Regions from separate parts of the Homo sapiens genome. Here region 1 is linked to region 2. The links are contacts of gene promoters, found by promoter capture Hi-C in human tissues and cell types (Jung and others, 2019). All regions are on one chromosome and are shown on one strand. Each heading gives the region's core, a stretch centred on a gene start or on the middle of the fragment in contact. The rest is flanking DNA. Distances are from core to core; before and after follow the strand shown.

What was found. The method cuts DNA at HindIII sites, captures the fragments that hold promoters and counts their contacts. A contact is called where the count stands out against the background at its distance.
Region 1: a fragment that was not itself captured here is called in contact with the fragment with the promoter of NALCN in region 2 in 1 of the 25 tissues and cell types used here (aorta).

What each region holds. Positions count from the first base shown.
Region 1 is chr13:101,760,633-101,766,563 of GRCh38, forward strand. All of the region lies in intron 3 of FGF14 (fibroblast growth factor 14), which reads right to left. Among named protein-coding and RNA genes, the nearest start is that of FGF14, 150 kb to the right of the region's middle. The HindIII fragment of the contact is 3,406 bases long and covers 2,593-5,931 here.
Region 2 is chr13:101,414,978-101,421,424 of GRCh38, forward strand. NALCN (sodium leak channel, non-selective) reads right to left here and starts at 1,531. Exons shown (of 44, transcript NM_052867.4): 1 at 1,336-1,531. RefSeq lists enhancers at 332-882, 883-1,433. The HindIII fragment of the contact is 15,657 bases long and covers 1-6,064 here.

The DNA.
Region 1 (5,931 bases), core at 3,046-5,545, 350 kb after region 2:
TCATCCATCCATGTACTCATTCAAATGGTAACAAGTGCTTACTGAGCATCTATTGCATGCTGATCACCTGATATAGTATTTTCTTTAATTCCTTCCAGCCTCCCTGGTATTCCCCGTCTTGCTTCCATTACTTTATTTTTCTCTTCCCAATACCCACTGATTTTTGAAACTTATTTGTTTATGATCTGTCTTCTTCCACTGGAATGTAAGTCCTAGAGTAGCCTACAACAGGTAGACAATGAGCATTTGTCTAATAAATCTAAAGCATTTAAAAATATTCAAAGTCAGCAGGCTTAATATTTTGTAGAATTAATTACTCTCTTGAAGGATGAAAAAAAAAGTATTACTTCACCTAAATACCCTATTAAAAATTTAATCCTTGGATAAAATTCTAATACAGTAATCTTACTTTTCAAACCAAAATATTAATTAGGCACACTTCTTCTCCAATTCCATTTACTAACAAAGGTTATAAGGCCCAATGCCTTAAATTAGAGACATTTGTCATAGTAAAACAACAAAATAATGCTATGTGATTCTATGTAGTTTACATGTAAAAATAACTTTTAGCTTTATATAATTTGCGAACCTTCAAATAAATCACAGAATATGCAGGAGAAAACACAAACCAGATTCTTTAACTTATATACTGCCTAAAAATGAGGAAAAATGAGACATAATGACACACATAGATAGAGATTTTCTTGCTAGTTGGAAAACTCAGATGAGAAAGTTATACCACAATCTATGTTGTATTTTGGGGTATTTTAAAGACCACAGTGACTGCTGCCTGTCACTTGGCCAGTCAGGGGAAAGTTCAAAACTTGGACCCCACGTGACTGTGGGTCTCTGTCAGCAAGTCCCCTTCTACTGTTCTGAGGCATGCAGAAAGGTCGACTATAGACAAATGCTTATTTAGGTTTCTTGGTCAAGTTAGCAGCAATGACTATAGTTAACAATAATATATAGTTTCAAAGAGCACCAAGGAGGATTTGAATGTTCCCTACACGAAGAAATAATAAATGTTAGAGATGATGGCTAGGCTAATTACCTTGATCTGATCACTGTACACTATATATAAAAACATCACTATGTACTCCATGAATATATACAATTATGATTTGTCAATTAAAAAATTAAACATTACAATTTATCAAGAAAACAACGCTTGTCCTCACTAATGGCAGTTGGGTAGGCATTTCTCTGCCATTATTCAGTTCATAATCTAATGGCTTAAAATCACAATTAAAGGCTCCCATCTCTGGGAACACAAACCAACACAAGAGTCCCTAAGAGAGAGGCCGCCAGGGAGTTAGAATTGGACAGGAACCAGCTAATTCCAGCCCTTTTTGATTCTGCTGATTTTGATATCTGAATACTAAGCAGTATAGGTTGATGATCTGTGTAGCAACCATGTGAGGTACTGTGCTGTGCTGTGAGTAGCCTGCTCCATTGATAGAGACTTAATAAACTTGGTAAAGCCAAAATCCAAATGGTAGGAGCATTTTGTCTGATTTCTAGTAGCACTGTTAAACATGCTTTGGAAAAGCTTGGAGGGATGTGTGCCTATGTGAAAGAGGGTTAAGCTACAGAATGCTGCAGTAAATCTTGCCTGGCAATGCAATATTTTGAAATAGCAAGACACAAATATGAAATTGGCAATATATGCCTTCAGCTGGATAAGTGTTTCAGTGAATTCTTCTAACCCCATTGTGCAAAATCCCAACCTTCGGACCGAGTTTAAGATTCTAAACAAGAAACTCACACATTTATTATATCAAAAATACCTTTGTCAGGGGCATTATATTCAAGTAAATCAAGCAAAGGCATAATTGTCCTTCTCACTCTATCTGCTTTGAGCTATCCATTGAAAGACTAACAGGAAATATATACTTAGGTAATACATATAAATATAATAACAATTCAGTCAGTTGTTGTTGGTCTGAGTGATTATGTAACGTGGGTCAAGAAATGAAACAATATGGCAAAACCAAAATAGCTGGCCCATCGGCATTGCTGCAAATGCTCCCTTAGTTGAATGGAGATAACCATAGTTCAATCAAAATAATTGTAAGTTTGCCATCTTTCTTTACACTTCAGTATTAAATACCTGCTGGGAACCTGAAATAGGCCAGTTTTCCTTGAACTGTATGGAATTAGCAATTGTCACATTTCATTTTTCCAAATCCGTATCATGTCAAATCCTACCTCCCATGGTGTCACATTTTTCCCTCTTGCCCAGAGGAATATTTTCATGCTAGTCAGTAGGTTGTATTTAGGCAGGCTCTGACACTGCCATAGGGAATATCAGTGCTGCACCAAACACACACCCTGCCTCCAGCATCCAGCCTTCAGCCCCATCATAAAAAGGTCAGACGCCATCTTTCAGACCACTAACTGCCATTTCTCTTTATCATCACAAGGAAAGGCAAACATAGGGTTTGTTGGAAGTGTGTAGAATGCACAGAAGTAAGCAAATTTGGCCTAATGAGTTTGGCAGGGTTGGAATTAGAGAGAATAGAGTGTGATGAAGTGAAAGGCACAGCACAGAGACCTGTGATTACAGTTAGAAACACCATTTTACCTGTGACAAAGTCAAAGATCACAACATTCTCCAGTCAGTCATCCCCAGCTGTGGTTAGGCCAGCTGTAAGGCAAGGGGTGCTCTCTGTAGCACTGATTGGCATAAGATTGGTTGTCTCAGGTGGCTGGAATGTACCACTGTCAATATGTAATGTACTCAACCCATGGGATGGAATGAACAGTATTTTAAGGACCTAGTTCTTTTTTTCCTAATAAGGAAATACCACTTTAATGACAAGATTGAGACAGGCATAGTGAAGGAACTTTGTGTGTGGAGACATCAGGAGTGAAATTTGGTCCTGTATTTATGCATTTCCTTTTCCTCTCTAGCGTTAATTTGAGGTAAGAAACTTAACTTCCTGGCTGGGCATGGTGACTCATGCCTGTAATCCCAGCACTTTGGGAGGCCAAGGCAGGTGGATCACCTGAGAGTAAGGAGTTTGAGACCAGCCTGACCAACATGGTGAAACCCCATCTCTAGTGAAAATACAAAAACTAGCCAGGTGTGGTGATGCACACCCGTAATCCCAGCTACTTGGGAGGCTGAAGCAGGAGAATGGCTTGAACCTGGGAGGCGGAGGTTGCAGTGAGCCGAGATTGCACCACTGCACTCCAGCCTGGGCAACAAGAATGAAACTCTGTCTCAAAAAACAAACAAACAAACAAACAAAACTTAACCTCCCCAGAGCAGCAGATTGAGACTGGCATGGTGAAGGAGCTTTGTGTGTGGAGACATCAGGAGTGAAATTTGGTCCTATATGTATGCATTTCCTTTTCCTCTCTAGTGTGAATTTGAAGTAAGAAAGTTAACCTCCCCAGAACAGCAGCTGACCAAAGTGGCAGAAGCTAGTAAGAAGTCTGTCCCCTGGGGCACAGGGATCCATCACTGACACTGTTAAGAATTGTTGGCACTGAGTGGAAATAAAAAGCACGGTAAATTTTAGTTGGTTTTATTATTCTTATTTTAATACTCTGATTCCAATATACTTTCTTGTTGGCTGAACCCTGGGATAGTTTCCGCTGACCCTCTGCCCCTGCTGGAGGTCTCTAAGCTTCAGTTCACTGATTTGCGTATGGCAATTTCAGCATCTGCTCCTACTACCCCACAGAATTGTGAGGATCAAGGTAGTAATGGGTGAGAAAGTGTTCTGTAATTGTCAAGCAAGTTGCGCAGTTAAGCACATGATTATCTGAGGTGTGGAGCAGAGTGAATGTGATGGAAAATTGAACCTCACTGGTGATCTCCCAACTCTGTCTTTGCTCTTGCTTTAGAATTATTTTCCCTAACCCACAAGTGTTGCAGAAAAGGGGCGATTAACAACAAAATGAGATTCACTAGTTTGAGCATCAGCTTGTTTCTTCACTCTCCCTGCTTATTCTGAGCAGTTTCTCAAGCTTGGCATGATTGGCCTTTTGGGCCATGTCATTCTTTGTCATAGGGCTATCCCATACGATGTAGGCTTAGTGGGATTCCTGGTCTCTACCCAGAAGATTGCACCTCCCCCACCACACCCAAGCTGTGACACAATGGCAAGAGGTACTGAAGTTAAGGAAGCCGGAAAATTTTCAAATAGTCTTTATTTCCAAATAGTCTCAAATGTACTTTTCATAAAGCAACCAATTCTGAATTTTAAAACAGCTTGTATGGAGTTGAATTTGACCTTGGATGAGAATTAGCATTTTAATATACCACTAAATGATAGTGATCCCACTGGGTTGAATACGAAAATCACTCAAGGACTGTAACTTCCCCCATCTAGAGTCTCTATGTGTTTGTCATAAAGTCATGCTTTATGCACACAATAGATCAGAGGCATTTTGTGAGCAAGGAGCTCTCCTTGTCCCATTTTGATTTGGTTCATATATTCTACAACCTTTATATGAAAGCAATATCAAAGGATGACTTAGGTCATCATGACTACATCAGGACAATGATAATACTCTGCCTCTGGCACATATATTCCTTCTCTTAATTCTGCTCTTTCTCCTCCCTACTTTATATTTCAGTTGTCAGATATTAGAGTTGACAAGCTAATGAAAATTGAATTGACTACTAAAAAACTCACACATACAAAGATAGAGAAATTACTTGAAAATTCCCTGTTTGGGTCAATTCAATGCAGACCCTTGCTTGGCTGCAACTGTAAACCCATCCAGCCTCTAAATGGCATTACTCTACAACTGACAACATTGGTCCCTGGGAACACTGCCATAGATTAGGTTAATAGTGGTAAAAAGATGCCTTGCTGTCTCTCACAAATTGTGCTAGAAGACAATGATGGCCTCCATGGAGGCAAGCAGGTGAACTGATTGCTTAGGGAAATCTCAGAATTGGTTCGTTATACCTTCCTACTCTTTCCTTTATAGAATCTTTACTTGCCAAATATGTATTTCATGCTACAGATTCATACAGTTGTGAAATGAAGACCACATAAGAGAATCAATATGTGAAACAAATCCTCTGTGCATATAGAAGCCTTTTATTTATTATTATTATTATTATTTTATTTATTTATTTATTTATTTATTTTGAGACGGAGTCTCGCTTTTGTCGCCCAGGCTGGAGTACAGTGGTGCGATCTCGGCTCACTGCAACCTCTGCTACCTGGGTTCAAGCTTCTCCTGCCCTCAGCCTCCTGAGTAGCTGGGATTACAGGCACCTGCCACCATACCCAGCTAATTTTTGTACTTTTAGTAGAGACGGGGTTTTGCCATGTTGGCCAGGCTGGTCTCAAACTCCTGACCTCAGGTGATCTGCCCACCTTGGCCTCCCAAAGTGCTGGGATTACAGGCATGAGCCACTGTGCCTGGCCAGCCTTTTACTTCTTAAACAAATCTATGGAAATCACACTTCTCAAAATTGTGAGCCTCAATAATTTGGAAAACCGGGCTTAATAATCATTAATCCTCATCTACAATTTTATAACCAGAAACTGTACTAGCTGGAATGATATCATTCAGGTGCAAGATATTTGATGTGAGTATGAAATGCCAATATTTTAAAAAATGAATTGCATAGTTCCATCAAGTCAAGGCACGTGTGTGTTTCCTCATGATGTCCATGGAGGCAGAAGTCACAACCTTCTCTTTTTCTTCCTCTCTTCCTTTTTTCCAATTCTTACTACGGGCTTCCATGAGCTAAAAATTGGTTGGTGTTCACATAGAGACCTGAATAAGTCAACTCCCTGCCCTCCAGGATTGCACAGACAATAAGAGGAAGCAGATATTTATTTAGCAGACTCTTGCAATATGTTGTTAGGGGCATTATGACAGAAGGGAGCAAAACAGGCAAAATAGACACAGAAGATATGGGAGGAAGGAGTTCTCAGAAGAGTGTTGAACAGCATC
Region 2 (6,447 bases), core at 281-2,780:
ACTCTAGAAAAGCACGCAGAATGACAGCCAACCAGTTAGGGAGTAAATGTTTCTCGTTGCAGATGTTTGGGAAGCCATGATTTTTATTTAGAACTGTGGAAACCTTATCTTTGAATTTAAAAAGCCAGTCCTGAGATGCATCTGCCTCAGGGGTAACTACCATAGTGAAACCGCTCCTCTCCCAGGCCATATCAAATCACAGTTGTAGTTATGAACATACAAATCACACACATATATATATATATATACATACATATATATTTCAAAATCGCCACCTGTTAATTTTTGATCCCCTATTAGAGGTGTTATCCACCAACTACTAACACGAAGGTCACTGGTCCTCAACCCACATTTCACCACCAGGGCAGTCGGGCCTAGCTGATGACCACACGAACACCAGATTAAGAGTAAAACCTTCTGAGGCCTGAAAGTGAGCGTGTATTCACACATCCTTAATAATACAGTGTCTGAAAAATTGTACCTGAAACTGAAAGATTTATTCTAAGGTATTTCAAGCACTAAGGGTCTGAGTTCAGCATTCTCACACCATCCTGAAAGAGGAACATTAAGTCAGCAAAATGACTGCGATCTGGGCCCCCAGAGGGATCCCAGCCAGGCCATCCTTGCTGGTGTCTTAAAGATTCAGTGACAAAATGGTGTTGCTTGGCAGGACACTGTTTTGCGTTCGGTGTAGCCACCCTAATGACGGCTGCTTAACAAGGCCAATGAATATCATAAGGGACATTTAGCAAGGAGCAATCCACAGGAGCATGGGGGTGGGGCAAGGCCGCGGAGCCCCCGCGGAGACCTGCTGGAGCCAGGCTGCCCACCCCCACCTCCCCACCCGCGCGTTGGCCCAGAGGTTTACCCAGGCAGCGGCCCTGGTGCCGAGGGGGCAGGTGCAGCGCTGTAGTGATGCCCAGTGGCCTCGTCCTCAGCCACCTGCCCCCCAACACCTGCTAGATGCCCAGGCGGGGCAGGCCCGAGGTGTCGCCGGCCCTGGGCTTCCCAAGCCAGCCCAGGGGCATCCCGCGGCAGGCGCCCCCGACACCCACGCGCAGGAATAGGGAGGGCGCATCGCGGCTCCCGCGCCCCGGCCAGGCCGGCAAGGACCCCACCGCCCCGCTCTCGGGTGGAGGCGCCCCTCCCCACCCCTCCCCCGCGCGGGGCCCCCGCCCGCAGCCCCTCTAGCAGCCCCTCTCGCAGCCCCAGCGCCCCTGAGCCGTCCTGGCCCGGACCGGCCAAGGAACTAACGAGCGCGCATCGCGGGCCTCGGGCGCAGGGCACGGAGCCGGCCGCGCCGCAGCCTCCCGGGCACCGGCGGCGGTGACCAACCTGTAACCCCAGCGCTCAGAGCTGTCATGGTGCCCGCGGGCGGCGGCGGCGGCGACAGTGGGCGACCGGCAGGATCAGTGCCAGGCGCGGCGCCCAGGGCGGGCGGGGACGCGGGCCCCTCACCTACGGCGGCTCAGCTCAGGCAGCGCGCTCGGCCCGGCTGGGGCCGCGGCTCACGCTCGCCGTGTCACTCACTGAGCGCCGCCGCCGCCGGGCAGGCTGGGGGAGGGGTGGGAGCCGGAGTTTTCGGGCCTTTAAAAAATTATTATTTTATTTAAATTTTTAAAGTTAGCTTTGCTACAGGGACTGCAGTGATGCCGAAGGGCGGGCACCGCAGAGGAGGCTGCGCCGCAGTTGGTGGGGAGCGCCAGGGTCGGTACTGGCAGTTCCTTCTTGCCGGCTGCCACCCGCAGTCAGTCTCACAGCAACAGCTAGGCTCTCATCTGCGAGCTCCTCTCGGGGGTCTTTCGTACTCAACAGCACGGCGGCGGTGTGCACGGGAGTCCGCCGGGCACACGCGGGGTACACTTAAGTGCACTGCCAGGAGGCCGGGAGCCCAGCGTGCGAGCGTGAGGTCAGACTGTGCACGGTACCGAGGACTAGTTCCATTCCTGAGTATGAAAGGGTGAAACCGTTCACCTCAAGTTTCACCCCGGAGTTATTAAATAATGAATGCATCAGTCACACTTATAGTTTTCTAAATAGGTTGACGTTCGCCTTTAAAATTAAAATATGTTGTCGTGTGGATGAGACAAAGTCTATTCAGAAATTGACAGTCCCCCACCCCATACCCTGTGAGTATACCTGGACAGCAGACTGCATCTGAGGCTTCCTAGGGCTCCCAGCAGAGCAGGTTTAGGGAAATCTGGCCTCCTAAGCACCATGCCCAGGGCGACATCCTCCCACTCATTCCCACTCTCTGAAAGGTTTACTTTGGGTCTGGAATCTTGCCATGTAGTCAGATACGAAAATCCCCAGGGAACTCCTGACCAGTGATTTAGACATCATGCACACAGGCATATAAATAAAGGGAAAGAAACAACTGAATGAAGCTTTCTCTACAAGAGAAATTCTAAACAAAGAGCATTTGTCTATCACAAAATGTTATGTGGCAAGGTATAGAAGTAAAACTACACAAACCTACATTTTAAAAATGTATTTTCTGGTTACAGATATTTAATTAATCTACTTTCTTAAAAAGTCCATTCACAATTTGTTCACATTCATAATCCATATTAGTACGTTTTATTGTTTACAGGGAAATGTTAAAATATTGGTATTTCATGAAATACAGAGTCATGCGAGATAATTTTTCAAATTTCTAAAGACTTCAGAAAAACTGTGTCAAAAGCCAGGTTTTAAACAAATGATGAAATCACTCCTCATAAGAAAAAATTGACAGTAATTTAAACAATGCTAAATCTACAACCAGTTTGCTTAGAAAAAGTATTTACCAACTTGTTTCATCATCTTTATTTGCGGCTTTCAATTGCTTGTTCTAAATACTAGTTTATTTCACAAACTGAAATATATAGCTATATATATATGGTAGCTGAATGATAGTGTGTTATTCCTTGACATTCGTTCGAATTATCTGTTAGTAAATTATATTAAGGAAATATTTAAACATTTATTTATAATGTTTTGAAGTGGTCAAGGCAGTGATTTTTTACTAATCTCAGTGCCACTCCTCACCCAACAGGCATTTCAGACCTTTCTCTGTCCTTGGTTGAACTACCTCTGTTAAGTCTCTATAATTCATGCTCATGAGCCAAACAATCCCAATGATGATGGAGACAGTCTCAGAGAATTCATGGGCTTCAAGGAAGTCATGGAATCCAGCACACTCATCCTATAATGCATAGGGATTCACTGTGTATTGGAGTAGACAATCATTTTAAAAAACAGGTACATCCAAAATATCATAGTACCCCTTCTACCTGCTCAGTATCTCTCTTCTTTTGTTTTCTTTGTTATTTTTAGAGACAAGGCCTATCTCCGTTGCCTAGCCTGGAGTGCATTGATGTGATTATAGCTCACTGCATCCTCAAAGCAAAAGTAGAAAGGATGAACAAATATCTTTTCCAGGTTGAATTGGCCCTGTAACTACATTCATTGCTGGAATCCAGTAAAAGTCAATTGCTGGCCTGTGGGTTCAATATAAACTGAGAATATAATTCAGGTGTGTTTTGTATGACTCAATGTATATTGTTGACAAATTAAGATCAATTACCAACATTTGAAAACCACAAGAATTTTATTTTATCAGGAAAAATAGGAAGATATGGATAACAGGCAGCCTCCACCATGCCCAGCTAATTTTTGTATTTTTAGTAGAGACGGGGTTTTGCCATGTTGGCCAGGCTGGACTCGAACTCCTGACCTCAGGTGATCCACCCACCTTGGCCTCCCAAAGTGCTGGGATTACAGGCGTAAGCCACCATACCTGTAGGAGTCTGAGGCATGACAATCACTTGAACTGGGGAGGCAGAGGTTGTGGTGAGCTGAGATTGTGCCACTGCACTCCAGCTTGGTTGGGTGATAGAGTGAGACTCCGTCTTGAAAAAAAAAAAAGGAAGGAAGATCTGGCCAGGTCAGTTCTGCATTCCCAAGTGGTAGGGGGCCAATAGGGGCATCCTGTGCCTCCCATAGGTGGGCATATACTTCCCATTTGCCTCCATGTCCCCAGCCTGCTTCAATTCCTGGCCCTGGAAGGTGTTTGCATGTAGGAGCCTATACAATTAAATCTGTATTTGACGGTATGAGATTGGGGAAAGGATAATGTCAAACACAGAGAAAGCAGTCAATACAGAAAGTTTTACAATAAAGAGGATGAAGCCAAGCCAATGCACAACCAAGATAGTAGTAGCCTTTGGTTTAAATGAAATTGTGTTCATGGTCCTGCAAGTGCTTTGGAATGGATGTGATATCATTTGTCTGTGTCCCCATCCAAATCTCATCTTGAATTGTAGCTCCCACAATTCCCATGTGTTGTAGGAGGGACCTGGTGGGAGATAATTGAATCATGGGGGCAGTTTCCCCCATACTGTTCTTGTGGTAGTGAATAAGTCTCATGGGATCTGATGGTTTTATAAGGCCCTTTCTCTTGGTCTTCATTTTCTCTCGTCTGCTGCCGTGTAAGACGTGCCTTTCGCCTTCCACCATGACTGTGAGGCCTCCCCAGCCATGGGGAACCGTGAGTCCGTTAAATCTCTTTTTCTTTGTAAATCACCCAGTCTCCAGTATGTCTTTATCAGCAGGATGAGAACAGACTAATAATACAGGAAGTAGCTATGAAATGCAAGACAGCAAGAATTTGATGAAAACAGGGTATTTGTTTTTCACTAACTCATTTGTTCCTACTGCTTATTTCCACCTTAATTAGTATTTCACTGGACACCATGGTGAGTTACTGGGAAAACAATAGGCATGCTAAAAGAGAAATTTGAAAATCCATGGAGGGACTGTCCTGTGCTCTATGGAAATATAGACACTGAATCAATTGGAGAAGAATTCTGCTCGAATATAATTATGTTTCATTTGATTTATGAGTAGATTATGCTTTAGTAACTACACAAGACTGTAATATTTTTGAGACTCTCATTAAGATTAGGTTTTTTTTTTTTTGAGATGGAGTCTCGCTCTGTCACCCAGGCTGGAGTGCAGTGGCGCAGTCTCGGCTCACTGCAAGCTCTGCCTCCCGGGTTCACGCCATTCTCCTGCCTCAGCCTCTCCGAGTAGCTGGGACTACAGGCGCCCGCCACCACGCCCGGCTAATTTTTTTTTATTTTTAGTAGAGACAGGGTTTCACCGTGGTCTCGATCTCCTGACCTCATGATCCACCCGCCTCGGCCTCCCAAAGTGCTGGGATTACAAGCGTGAGCCACCGCGCCCGGCCTAAGATTAGTTTTAATCCGTATACACTTGTTTATGTTCTGTGATTTCAAGACCCACATGTCACCAAATATTGCTATGATGAACTTTTAGATGCTCTTTGGGCAGGGAAAATTAAGGTTTAGAATACACACCTAAAAATGTAAACAGGCTAACTAATAGGCATCTCCTGCTTGTTGCCTCACTAACATGGATTTACATGTACAGGCGTTCCTGGAAGACAGTGCAATTTGGTTTCAGACCAATGCAATAAAGTACATATCACAATGAGGCAAGTCACACAATTTTTTTTTATATTCCAATGCATATATAAGTTATGTATACACTGTACTGTATACTAAAATATATATATATCTTAACTTAAAAATACTTTATTGCCAAACAATGCAAATGATCATCTGAGCCTTCTGTGAGTCTGTGAGTCATAACCTTTTTTTTTTTTTTTTTTTTGAGTATCACTCTTGTCACCCAGGCTGGAGTGCAATGGTGCAATCTTGGCTCACTGCAACCTCTGCCTCCTGGGTTCAAGTGATTCTCCTACCTCAGCCTCCTTAGTAGCTAGGACTACAGGCGTGCATCACCACGCCCAGATAATTTTTGTATTTTTAGTAGAGACGGGGTGCGATCATGTTGGCCAGGCTGGTCTTGAACTCCTGACCTCAAATGATCCGCCCGCCTTGGACTCCCAAAGTGCTGGGATTACAGGCGTAAGCCACTGTGCCCAGCCCCTCATAACCTATTTGTTGGAGGAGGGTCTTGCCTCATTGTTGATGACTGCTGGTTGATCAGGCTGGTGCTTACTGAAGGCTGGAGTGGCTGTGGCAATTTCTTAAAAATAGACAAGCATGAAGTTTGCCACATTGGTTGACTCTTCCTTTCATGAGAGATTTTTCTGTAACATGCCATGCCATTCAATGGCTTTTTACCCACAATAGAACATTTATCAAAATTGCAGTCACTCCTCTCAAACTCTGCTACAGCTTTATCAATTAAGTTTATGTAATATTCTAAACCCTTTGTTGTCACTTCAACAATGTTCACAGAATCTTTACGAGGAGAAGATTCCATCTCAAGAAACCACTTTCTTTGCTCATCCATAAGAAGCAACTCATCCATTTAAGTTTTATCATGAGATTGTAGCAATTCGGTCACATCTTCAGGCTCTATTTCTAATTCTAGTTCTCTCACTATTTCCACTAAATCTGCAGTTACTTCCTC